3 separate regions of the Homo sapiens genome follow, and all the other regions are linked to region 1. The links are contacts of gene promoters, found by promoter capture Hi-C in blood cells and fetal thymus (Javierre and others, 2016). All regions are on one chromosome and are shown on one strand. The core of a region is centred on a gene start or on the middle of the fragment in contact, and the rest is flanking DNA. Distances in the headings are between cores, read along the strand shown. Region 1 holds the start of STH (saitohin). Region 2 overlaps KANSL1 (KAT8 regulatory NSL complex subunit 1). Region 3 has its middle 14 kb from the start of KANSL1-AS1.

Region 1 (3,933 bases), core at 1,434-3,933:
GCCTGCAGACAGCCCCCGTGCCCATGCCAGACCTGAAGAATGTCAAGTCCAAGATCGGCTCCACTGAGAACCTGAAGCACCAGCCGGGAGGCGGGAAGGTGAGAGTGGCTGGCTGCGCGTGGAGGTGTGGGGGGCTGCGCCTGGAGGGGTAGGGCTGTGCCTGGAAGGGTAGGGCTGCGCCTGGAGGTGCGCGGTTGAGCGTGGAGTCGTGGGACTGTGCATGGAGGTGTGGGGCTCCCCGCACCTGAGCACCCCCGCATAACACCCCAGTCCCCTCTGGACCCTCTTCAAGGAAGTTCAGTTCTTTATTGGGCTCTCCACTACACTGTGAGTGCCCTCCTCAGGCGAGAGAACGTTCTGGCTCTTCTCTTGCCCCTTCAGCCCCTGTTAATCGGACAGAGATGGCAGGGCTGTGTCTCCACGGCCGGAGGCTCTCATAGTCAGGGCACCCACAGCGGTTCCCCACCTGCCTTCTGGGCAGAATACACTGCCACCCATAGGTCAGCATCTCCACTCGTGGGCCATCTGCTTAGGTTGGGTTCCTCTGGATTCTGGGGAGATTGGGGGTTCTGTTTTGATCAGCTGATTCTTCTGGGAGCAAGTGGGTGCTCGCGAGCTCTCCAGCTTCCTAAAGGTGGAGAAGCACAGACTTCGGGGGCCTGGCCTGGATCCCTTTCCCCATTCCTGTCCCTGTGCCCCTCGTCTGGGTGCGTTAGGGCTGACATACAAAGCACCACAGTGAAAGAACAGCAGTATGCCTCCTCACTAGCCAGGTGTGGGCGGGTGGGTTTCTTCCAAGGCCTCTCTGTGGCCGTGGGTAGCCACCTCTGTCCTGCACCGCTGCAGTCTTCCCTCTGTGTGTGCTCCTGGTAGCTCTGCGCATGCTCATCTTCTTATAAGAACACCATGGCAGCTGGGCGTAGTGGCTCACGCCTATAATCCCAGCACTTTGGGAGGCTGAGGCAGGCAGATCACGAGGTCAGGAGTTCGAGACCAACCTGACCAACAGGGTGAAACCTCGTCTCTACTAAAAATACAAAAATACCTGGGCGTGGTGGTGGTGCGCGCCTATAATCCCAGCTACTCAGGAGGCTGAGGCAGGAGAATCGCTTGAACCCAGGAGGCAGAGGTTGCAGTGAGCCGAGATAGTGCCACTGCACTCCAGTTTGAGCAACAGAGCGAGACTCTGTCTCAAAACAAAATAAAACAAACCAAAAAAACCCACCATGGCTTAGGGCCCAGCCTGATGACCTCATTTTTCACTTAGTCACCTCTCTAAAGGCCCTGTCTCCAAATAGAGTCACATTCTAAGGTACGGGGGTGTTGGGGAGGGGGGTTAGGGCTTCAACATGTGAATTTGCGGGGACCACAATTCAGCCCAGGACCCCGCTCCCGCCACCCAGCACTGGGGAGCTGGGGAAGGGTGAAGAGGAGGCTGGGGGTGAGAAGGACCACAGCTCACTCTGAGGCTGCAGATGTGCTGGGCCTTCTGGGCACTGGGCCTCGGGGAGCTAGGGGGCTTTCTGGAACCCTGGGCCTGCGTGTCAGCTTGCCTCCCCCACGCAGGCGCTCTCCACACCATTGAAGTTCTTATCACTTGGGTCTGAGCCTGGGGCATTTGGACGGAGGGTGGCCACCAGTGCACATGGGCACCTTGCCTCAAACCCTGCCACCTCCCCCCACCCAGGATCCCCCCTGCCCCCGAACAAGCTTGTGAGTGCAGTGTCACATCCCATCGGGATGGAAATGGACGGTCGGGTTAAAAGGGACGCATGTGTAGACCCTGCCTCTGTGCATCAGGCCTCTTTTGAGAGTCCCTGCGTGCCAGGCGGTGCACAGAGGTGGAGAAGACTCGGCTGTGCCCCAGAGCACCTCCTCTCATCGAGGAAAGGACAGACAGTGGCTCCCCTGTGGCTGTGGGGACAAGGGCAGAGCTCCCTGGAACACAGGAGGGAGGGAAGGAAGAGAACATCTCAGAATCTCCCTCCTGATGGCAAACGATCCGGGTTAAATTAAGGTCCGGCCTTTTCCTGCTCAGGCATGTGGAGCTTGTAGTGGAAGAGGCTCTCTGGACCCTCATCCACCACAGTGGCCTGGTTAGAGACCTTGGGGAAATAACTCACAGGTGACCCAGGGCCTCTGTCCTGTACCGCAGCTGAGGGAAACTGTCCTGCGCTTCCACTGGGGACAATGCGCTCCCTCGTCTCCAGACTTTCCAGTCCTCATTCGGTTCTCGAAAGTCGCCTCCAGAAGCCCCATCTTGGGACCACCGTGACTTTCATTCTCCAGGGTGCCTGGCCTTGGTGCTGCCCAAGACCCCAGAGGGGCCCTCACTGGCCTTTCCTGCCTTTTCTCCCATTGCCCACCCATGCACCCCCATCCTGCTCCAGCACCCAGACTGCCATCCAGGATCTCCTCAAGTCACATAACAAGCAGCACCCACAAGGTGCTCCCTTCCCCCTAGCCTGAATCTGCTGCTCCCCGTCTGGGGTTCCCCGCCCATGCACCTCTGGGGGCCCCTGGGTTCTGCCATACCCTGCCCTGTGTCCCATGGTGGGGAATGTCCTTCTCTCCTTATCTCTTCCCTTCCCTTAAATCCAAGTTCAGTTGCCATCTCCTCCAGGAAGTCTTCCTGGATTCCCCTCTCTCTTCTTAAAGCCCCTGTAAACTCTGACCACACTGAGCATGTGTCTGCTGCTCCCTAGTCTGGGCCATGAGTGAGGGTGGAGGCCAAGTCTCATGCATTTTTGCAGCCCCCACAAGACTGTGCAGGTGGCCGGCCCTCATTGAATGCGGGGTTAATTTAACTCAGCCTCTGTGTGAGTGGATGATTCAGGTTGCCAGAGACAGAACCCTCAGCTTAGCATGGGAAGTAGCTTCCCTGTTGACCCTGAGTTCATCTGAGGTTGGCTTGGAAGGTGTGGGCACCATTTGGCCCAGTTCTTACAGCTCTGAAGAGAGCAGCAGGAATGGGGCTGAGCAGGGAAGACAACTTTCCATTGAAGGCCCCTTTCAGGGCCAGAACTGTCCCTCCCACCCTGCAGCTGCCCTGCCTCTGCCCATGAGGGGTGAGAGTCAGGCGACCTCATGCCAAGTGTAGAAAGGGGCAGATGGGAGCCCCAGGTTATGACGTCACCATGCTGGGTGGAGGCAGCACGTCCAAATCTACTAAAGGGTTAAAGGAGAAAGGGTGACTTGACTTTTCTTGAGATATTTTGGGGGACGAAGTGTGGAAAAGTGGCAGAGGACACAGTCACAGCCTCCCTTAAATGCCAGGAAAGCCTAGAAAAATTGTCTGAAACTAAACCTCAGCCATAACAAAGACCAACACATGAATCTCCAGGAAAAAAGAAAAAGAAAAATGTCATACAGGGTCCATGCACAAGAGCCTTTAAAATGACCCGCTGAAGGGTGTCAGGCCTCCTCCTCCTGGACTGGCCTGAAGGCTCCACGAGCTTTTGCTGAGACCTTTGGGTCCCTGTGGCCTCATGTAGTACCCAGTATGCAGTAAGTGCTCAATAAATGTTTGGCTACAAAAGAGGCAAAGCTGGCGGAGTCTGAAGAATCCCTCAACCGTGCCGGAACAGATGCTAACACCAAAGGGAAAAGAGCAGGAGCCAAGTCACGTTTGGGAACCTGCAGAGGCTGAAAACTGCCGCAGATTGCTGCAAATCATTGGGGGAAAAACGGAAAACGTCTGTTTTCCCCTTTGTGCTTTTCTCTGTTTTCTTCTTTGTGCTTTTCTCTGTTTTCAGGATTTGCTACAGTGAACATAGATTGCTTTGGGGCCCCAAATGGAATTATTTTGAAAGGAAAATGCAGATAATCAGGTGGCCGCACTGGAGCACCAGCTGGGTAGGGGTAGAGATTGCAGGCAAGGAGGAGGAGCTGGGTGGGGTGCCAGGCAGGAAGAGCCCGTAGGCCCCGCCGATC
Region 2 (4,117 bases), core at 965-3,464, 180 kb after region 1:
AGTCATTGGTTAAGATTCTTTTGTCTTTTGTTTCTTGGCTTATGTAAAGTCTCCACCATAAACATGTATTACTTCTATAATAAAATGGAGAGAAACAAAAAGAAAACAATGGAAATTCTTAAAGAGCCAATAACTAAGTAAAACAAAATCACAGTAACATTCTTTTTTTTTTTTTAAGAGATGGAGTCTCGCTCTGTCACCCAGGCTGGAGAGCAGTGGCGTGATCTAAGCTCACTGCAAGCTCCACCTCCCGGGTTCACGCCATTCTCCTGCCTCAGCCTCCCCAGTAGCTGGAACTACAGGCGTCCGCCACCACGCCCAGCTAGTTTTTTGTATTTTTAGTAGAGACAGGGTTTCACCATGTTAGCCAGGATGGTCTCCATCTCCTGACCTCGTGATCTGCCCACCTTGGCCTCCCAAAGTGCTGGGATTACAGGCATGAGCCACCACGCCCGGCCCATAGTAACATTCTTAAATTTAATATACAGAGCAAAACAATGATTCCTATCCCACTTGACCCCTACAAAATTCAAAAAGCTTCAATCTTTGACAATGTAAAGCAGGGAAAGACTGTCAAATTTAAGCAGTTCTTAGAGAAGCTCAGGGCTAAAGGAAAAAAAAACGAAAAACAAAAAAAGGAAGCAGTTCTACACAAACAGCACAACAGCCTATCTGATAAATCATCTTTCTCCAAAGAATACAAAGCCTTAAAAGCTATAATTAACTGATTAATCCTCATAACAACCTGGGCAGTAGAATTAGGGCTGAGATTATAATTTCTAATTTACCGGTGGGGATAAAGTCAGACTGTACATTCAGAATAAAAATTCAAGCCCCAAATATCCCAATTTTTAGTTCATTCAGTTAGTAAACTATAATCTGACAAATACAGATGGAGCTGCTACACCTGCTGTCACTCACACAAATTGAGATTCTGCAGTAAGCTTGTACAGATAAAAGAAAAGGCTACCTATTCAAGGTCATTTAGCTATAAAAGGTTGGGCTAGATAATCAATAGTTTCTCTCTCAGTTTCAAAGAAGTATTTTAGGGTCTGGAAGATGTTAAATGCACTCAGCAAGCAAATACATTTCGGAAAAACTTCCCAGATGGAGACTCACAACGTATTGCATCATACTGAATATGCAAATGTTTACCTTTACCAAACTTTTTTAACAAGCACCTTTTTCCATTACATCTATTAATATCAAGCAGAAACATCATTGTGAGAAATACAAGTTGGGATAAAGTTCAAATATGTGACCTCTAGGGTCCCTTCCTATGTTAATTCTATTATTCTAAATTGCACCATCGGTCCAAGGACAAACTTCTACCTAACACAAGTGGCACTTGGGAAGCAAAAATATACTTCTAGGATAGAGTTTCTCAACCTAACCACTAACTGACATCTCACGATGAGTAATCTATCACAGGGGGCTATCCTGGCAGTAGCATGTTTAGCAACATCTCTGTTTTCCACCCACTAGATGCTAGTAGTGCCCTTCTGAAAATTATGACAATCAAAAATGTCTCCAGACATGTCAAATATGGGAGCTGGGGGGTTCAACATCACACCTCCCAACAGAGAACCATATCCTAAAGATTATACACACACATATATATACTCTTTCAAAAGCAAAACGTATCCAGCTGCTTCAAATACTGTAAGTCAGAACTAACTCCACACCCACAAATGAAAACCTCATTTATTCCCAGTCAATTTCCAAGACAAGACTCCAGATACACAAGAATAACCTGGAAGCATCCACCTTGCAAAAATATTTAGCTGCAGAGAACAAAGGGGAAGGAATAGGTCATCCAGGTGGCCAACAAGTATTACAACCACACTTGCACTGAAAGCAAAAGCAAAAATCAGATGGGGAAGAAAAGTTTGCCCATAATGTGGCTTCTACTAACCTCTTCCTTCACCATTACCTCATTTCTCTACACAAAGGACGGAAAGAAACAGCAGGAAGGATGATTAGGGAAGTGTCCATGAAGTTGCCGCAATTTTAGCTGAGACTTGAAAATTAGCTAAAATGTCATTATGCAAAAGGCTAGGACAAGAGAATGGTAATGTGGCATTCTAGTGAGAGGAAATGGCATAAGAAAAGGCAACGCTGTGTGGGAAAAGGCGACATTCTGAAGGTTAAAAGAAATGAACAATTTGGGCCGGGCGCAGTGACTCATGCCTATAATCCCAGGACTTTGGGAGGCTGAGGCGGGTAGATCACCTGAGATCAGGAGACCAGCCTGGCCAACATGGCGAAACCCCATCTCTACTAAAATTACCAAAAATTAGCCGGGTGTGGAGGCGCGCACCTGTACTCCCAGCTACTTGGAAGACTGAGACAGGATAATTGCTTGAACCCAGGAGGCAGAGGTTGCAGTGAGCTGAGATCGGGCCACTGCACTCCAGCTTGGGTAACAAGAGCGAGACTCCATCTTAAAAAAAAAAAAAAATTAACAATTTGCTTAAAACACAAAGCATATTTTAATAGAGGAAATAGTAGAATGAAGGTGGAAAGGCAGTTTGAAGCCAGATCCTTAACGGACAGCCTTTAATAGCCTTAATTCAGACTTAAAGACAGTAGAGGGGCCAGGCACAGTGGCTCACGCCTGCAATCCCCGCACTTTGGGAGGCTGAGGCGGGTGGATCACCTGAGGTCAGGAGTTTGAAACCAGCCTGGCCAACGTGGTGAAAACCCGCCTCTAATAAAAATACAAAAAAATCAGCTGGGTGTGGTGGCGGGCACCTGTAATCCCAGCTGCTCGGGAAGCTGTGGTAGGAGAATCGCTGAAACCTGAGCGGCAGAGGTTGCAGTGAGCCGAGATCGCACCATTGCACTCCAGCCTGGGTGACAAAAGTGAGACTCCATCTCAAAAAAAGAAATAAATAATAAAAATAAAAATAAAAAATTTAGCCGGGCATGATGGCAGGTGCCTGTAGTCCCAGCTACTAGGGAGGCTGAGGCATGAGAATCACTTGAACCCAGGAGGCAGAGGCTGCAATGAGCTAAGATTGAGCCACTGCATTTCAGCCAGGGCGACAAAGAGAGGCTCTGTCTCAAAAACAAAAACAAACAAACAAAGACAGCAGAGGCCAGGTGCAGCGGCTCAGACATGTAATCCCAGCACTCTGGGAGGCCAAGGCAAAAGGATTGCTTGAGGCCAGGAGTTTGAGACCAGCCTGGTCAACATAGCGAGATCGAGTCTCTGAAAAATAAAAAGTATATACATATATATATACACACACATATATATGTATATGTATATATAAAATAATGACAGCAGAGTATCATTAAACACTTTTTAAATGGGAGTGAAACATCAGACTGTGCTTTAGAGAGATCAGTTGGGTAGGATGGATTGAAAGTAAGTAAAAAGGCATCTATAGATGGCAAAGACCAATAAAAAAGCTACCACAATAATCCAGATAGGATGCAATGAGAACTTCAACCAGAAAATAATAGTCAAAGTCTCTACCAAAGCTTAAATCCAGAAATGTGAAGGGGCCAGTCTAACAAAAAGGCCAAATATATGACAAACAAAAACATGATGGCTTATAAAGAATGGAAAGAAAGCTCTCTTTTCCTTCATAATTTCATCTCCTTTGTGACGAAATCCTTCTTTTCTCACGAAGCTTTTCAGGTTTGGTATGTCCTCTCTATACTTCTAACACTATCAGTCTAGCCCAGGTCCTCATCAGCTCCTGTCTAGATTATCACAACAGCTTCCTGACTAGTGCCTCAGTGCCCCAAACTATCCTTTACCTTTTTATCATCTCACTTTCCTACTCTGAACAAGTTCCTCACACTTTTTTTTTTTTTGAGACAAAGTCTCGCTCTTGTCCCCCAGGCTGGAGTGCGATGGCGCGATCTCCGCTCACTGCAACCTCCGCCTCCCAGGTTCAAACGATTCTCCTACCACAACCTCCCGAGCAGCTGGGATTACCGGTGCCTGCCACCACAGCCAGCTAATTTTTTTGTAATTTTAGTAGAGATGGGGTTTCACCACGTTGGCCAGGCTGGTTTCGAACTCCTGACCTCAGGTGATCGACCCGCCTCGGCCTCCCAAAGTGCTGGAATTACAGGCATGAGCCACCACACCCAGCCCCTC
Region 3 (3,801 bases), core at 178-2,677, 210 kb after region 1:
ATCTCTACAAAAATACAAAAATGAGCTAGATGTGGTGGCATGCACCTGTAATCCTAGCTGCTTGGGGGGCTGAGGAGGGAAGATCACTTGAGCCTAGTAGGTTACAGCTGCAGTGAGCCATGATTGCATTACTGTACTTCACTGCAGCCTGGATGACAGAACAAGACTGTGTCCCCCAAAAAAAAAAAAAAAAAAAAAAGGAAAGATATCCCATGTTCATGGATGAGAATGGATCAGAAGATACAACTCTGTTAAAATGGCAATATTCCCTAAATTGATCTACAGAATCAATGTGATCCCAGCATACCCAAAAGAAATTTGAATAGGAAAAACAAAGTTGGGGGACTCACACTTCCTGATTTGAAAACATAATTCAAAGCTATGGAAATCAAGACAGTGTGGTAGTGGCATAAGGATAAACATACAGATCAATGGAATATAAGTGTGGGTTCAGAAATAAACCTTTACACTGACAGTCAATTGATTTTATGACAAAAATGCCAAGACAATTCAGTGGAGGAAAGAATGGTCTTTTTAAGCCAAGTGCTGTAGCTGACACCTATAATCCCAGCATTTGGGGAGGCTGAGACAGGAGGATTGCTTGAGGCCAGGAGTTTGAGACTAGCCAGGGCAACAAAGCAAGACCCCCATCTCTACAAGAAACAAACAATGGTCTTTTCAACAAACCATGCTGGGACAACTGAATATTCACATGCAGTAGAATGAAGCTGGACCACTATATCTCACACCATACACAAAAATTAATTCTAATTAAATTTAAACACGGATTATAGACCTAAATGTAACAGCTAAAACAATAAAATTCCTAGAAGAAAACAAAGCTAATCTTCATTTCATTTGGTGGCCTGACATCAAAACCACATGCAACAAAGGAAAAAACAAGTAAATTTGGCTTCATCAGAATTATAACATTTTGTACATTAAAGGACACCATCAAGAAATTGAAAACACAACCCATAGATGGGAGAAAATATTTGCAAATCATGTATCTCACAAGGGATTTGTATCTAGTATATTTAAAGAACTCTTACAACTCAACAATAAAAAGAGAATCCAATTTTAAAATGGGCAAAGGCTGAGCATGGTGGCTCACACCAGAAGGAGAGGATCCCTTGAGGCAAGGATTCTGAGACCTGCCAGAGCAATATAGCAAGACCCTGTCTCTACAAAATAAATTAATAATAATAAAAAAAAACAATTAGCCAGGCATGGTGGCACACACCTGTAGTCCTAGCTACTCAGGAGCTTGAGGCAGAAGGAACCCTTGAGTCCAGGAGTTTGAAGTTCCAGAAACTATGATTGGGCCGGGTGCGGTGGCTCACGCCTGTAATCCTAGCACTTTGGGAGTCCAAGGCGGGTGGATCATGAGGTCAGGAGTTCAAGACCAACCTGGCCAAGATGGTGAAACCCCATCTCTACTAAAAATACAAAAATTAGCTGGGCGTGGTGGTGGGTGCCTCTAATCCCAGCTACTTGGGAGGCTGAGGCAGAGAATCACTTGAACCCAGGAGGCAGAGATTGCAGTGAGCCAAGATAGTGCCACTGAACTCCAGCCTGGGTGACAGAGCAAGACTCCATCTCCAAAAAAAAAAAAAAAGAAAAGAAAACTGCGATTGGCCACTGCACTCTAGCCAGAGTGACAGAGCAAGACCTAGCCTAAAAAACAATAGTGTATAAAAATAAAATTAAAATGTGCAGAGAATTTAAATAGACATTTCTCCAAAGAAGATATATGAATGGCCAATAAGCACATGAAAAGATCTCATCAGGTTGAGCACAGGGGATCAGGCCTGTAATCCCAACACTTTGGGAGGCCAAGGTGCGGGGACTGCTTGAGCTCAGGAGTTTGAGACCAGCCTGGGCAACATGGTAAAACCCCATCTCTACAAAAAATACAAAAAGGCCAGGTACAGTGGCTCATGCCTTTAATCCCAGCACTTTGGGAGGCTGAGGCGGGTGGATCACCTGATGTCAAGAGTTTGAGACCAGCCTGGCCAACATGGTGAAACCCCGTCTCTACTAAAAAGACAAAAATTAGCCAGGTGTGATGGTAGGCGCCTGTAATACCAGCTACTGGGGAAGCTGAGGCAGGAGAATCACTTGAACCTAGGAGGCGGAGGTTACAGTGAGCCAAGATCACACCACTGCACTCCAACCTGGGTGAAAGGCAAAAATCCGTCTCAAAAAAAAAAAAAGTTTCAAAGATAAAACAAAAATCTTGTTAAAGATAAATACACGAGATGCTAAAGAAATAATCTACTTCTTCAAGTCATGCTATCAATTTGCACCAAAATTTTCATTTCCTATGTGTAGGTGTTGAGGGTCTTGTACCCATGATAAATGACATACACCTGTTCTGGGCTGACTTTTGTTCCCCAAAAGAGATATATAGTACTCCAAGGGGCTGGGCACAGTGGCACATGCCTGTAATCCCAGCACTTTGGAAGGTCAAGGCCACAGCATCGCTTGAGCTCAGGAATTCAATATCAGCCTGGGCAACATGGCAAGACCCCGGCTCTACTAAAAATATAAAAAAATAGCCAGGTGTGGCAGTGCACACCTGTAGTCCCAGCTACCCGGGAAGCTGAGATGGGAGGATTGCTTGAGCCTGGGGTTTAGGGGGCTGGAGGTTGCAGTGATCCAAGTGCCACTGCACTCTAGCCTGGATGACAGAGGGAGACCCTGTCTCAAAAAAAAAAAAAAAAAAAAAGATATGTAGTACTCCTAACATTCAGCACCTCAGAACCTGATCTTAGAGACAGGATCTTCAGGCCAGGTGGCTTCCCTTCCTCTCCGCGTCAGTCTGTCCCACCTCAGCTCAGCCCACCGGAGACAGAGGGTGCAGGAACCTGGAGGCGGAGGTTGCAGGAAGCCGAGATCCTGCAACTGCACTCCAGCCTGGGCGACACAGCAAGACTCCGTCTCAAAAAAAAAAAAAAAACCTTACAACAAAATGATGCAGCCCGGGCGCAGTGGCTCACGCCTGTAATCCCAGCACTTTGGGAGGCCGAGTGGGGCGGATCATTTGAGGTCAGGAGTTCGAGACCAGCCTGGCCAACATGGTGAAATCCTATCTCAACTAAAAAAAAACCAAAAACTACAGAAATTAGCCAGGCGTGATGGCGCATGCCTGCAGTCTCAGCTGCTTGGGAGGCTGAGGCAGGAGAATTGCTTGAACCCGGGAGTCGGAGGTTGCAGTGAGCCAAGATTGCGCCGATTGCACTCCAGCCTGAGTGACAAGAGCAAAACTCCATCTCAAAAAAAAAAGAAAATGCAAAGTCACCTAAGAGACAGTTTAAATACATAAAAAGCTCGATGCCAAATAAAACTGGATGGGTCACTTGATAAGTGGGATTGATAAAAAGCAAGACAGCTGATATTATATAATTCTTATTTGCTTCGATATTTACTGGGGAAGGTAGAGGGGAAAAGCTATCTAAATTACTCTTAATAAGCATACAAATCTCTAATAGTGAATCAAATGCATCATTAAATATACTAAATTCCTCAAACTGATATGTCAGATGTCAGGTAGTCATGAAGACCCAAAATAGTCTCCATGGGTTTTTTGTTGTTGTTTTTTTGAGACAGAGTCTCACTCTGTTGCCCAGGCTGGAGTGCAGTGGCACCATCTCGACTCACTGCAACCTCTGTCTCCCGGGTTCAAGCCATTCTCCCACCTCAGCCTCCCAAGTAGCTGGGATTACAGGCATGTGCCACCACATTTGGCTGATTTTTGTATTTTTAGTAGAGACAGGGTTTCACTATGTTACCCAGGCT

What was found. Contacts are between HindIII fragments. The CHiCAGO score rates a contact against its expected background, and 5 or more counts as called.
Region 2: a contact is called between a fragment that was not itself captured here and the fragment with the promoter of STH in region 1, in 2 of 17 cell types (naive CD8 T cells and total CD4 T cells). The highest score is 5.4, in naive CD8 T cells.
Region 3: a fragment that was not itself captured here is called in contact with the fragment with the promoter of STH in region 1 in 17 of 17 cell types (neutrophils, M2 macrophages, naive CD8 T cells and 14 more); the score reaches 16.1 in neutrophils.

Annotation. Positions count from the first base shown.
Region 1 is chr17:45,996,567-46,000,499 of GRCh38, forward strand. STH (saitohin) reads left to right here and starts at 2,684. Exons shown (of 1, transcript NM_001007532.3): 1 at 2,684-3,128. The coding sequence starts at 2,714. The coding sequence ends at 3,100. It overlaps MAPT (microtubule associated protein tau), which reads left to right. Exons shown (of 13, transcript NM_001377265.1): 9 at 1-98. The HindIII fragment of the contact is 3,833 bases long and covers 1,709-3,933 here.
Region 2 is chr17:46,177,619-46,181,735 of GRCh38, forward strand. The region is part of intron 1 of KANSL1 (KAT8 regulatory NSL complex subunit 1); the gene reads right to left. Among named protein-coding and RNA genes, the nearest start is that of KANSL1, 14 kb to the right of the region's middle. The HindIII fragment of the contact is 2,545 bases long and covers 943-3,487 here.
Region 3 is chr17:46,205,907-46,209,707 of GRCh38, forward strand. It overlaps a transcript of KANSL1 not described here. Among named protein-coding and RNA genes, the nearest start is that of KANSL1-AS1, 14 kb to the left of the region's middle. The HindIII fragment of the contact is 7,277 bases long and covers 1-3,801 here.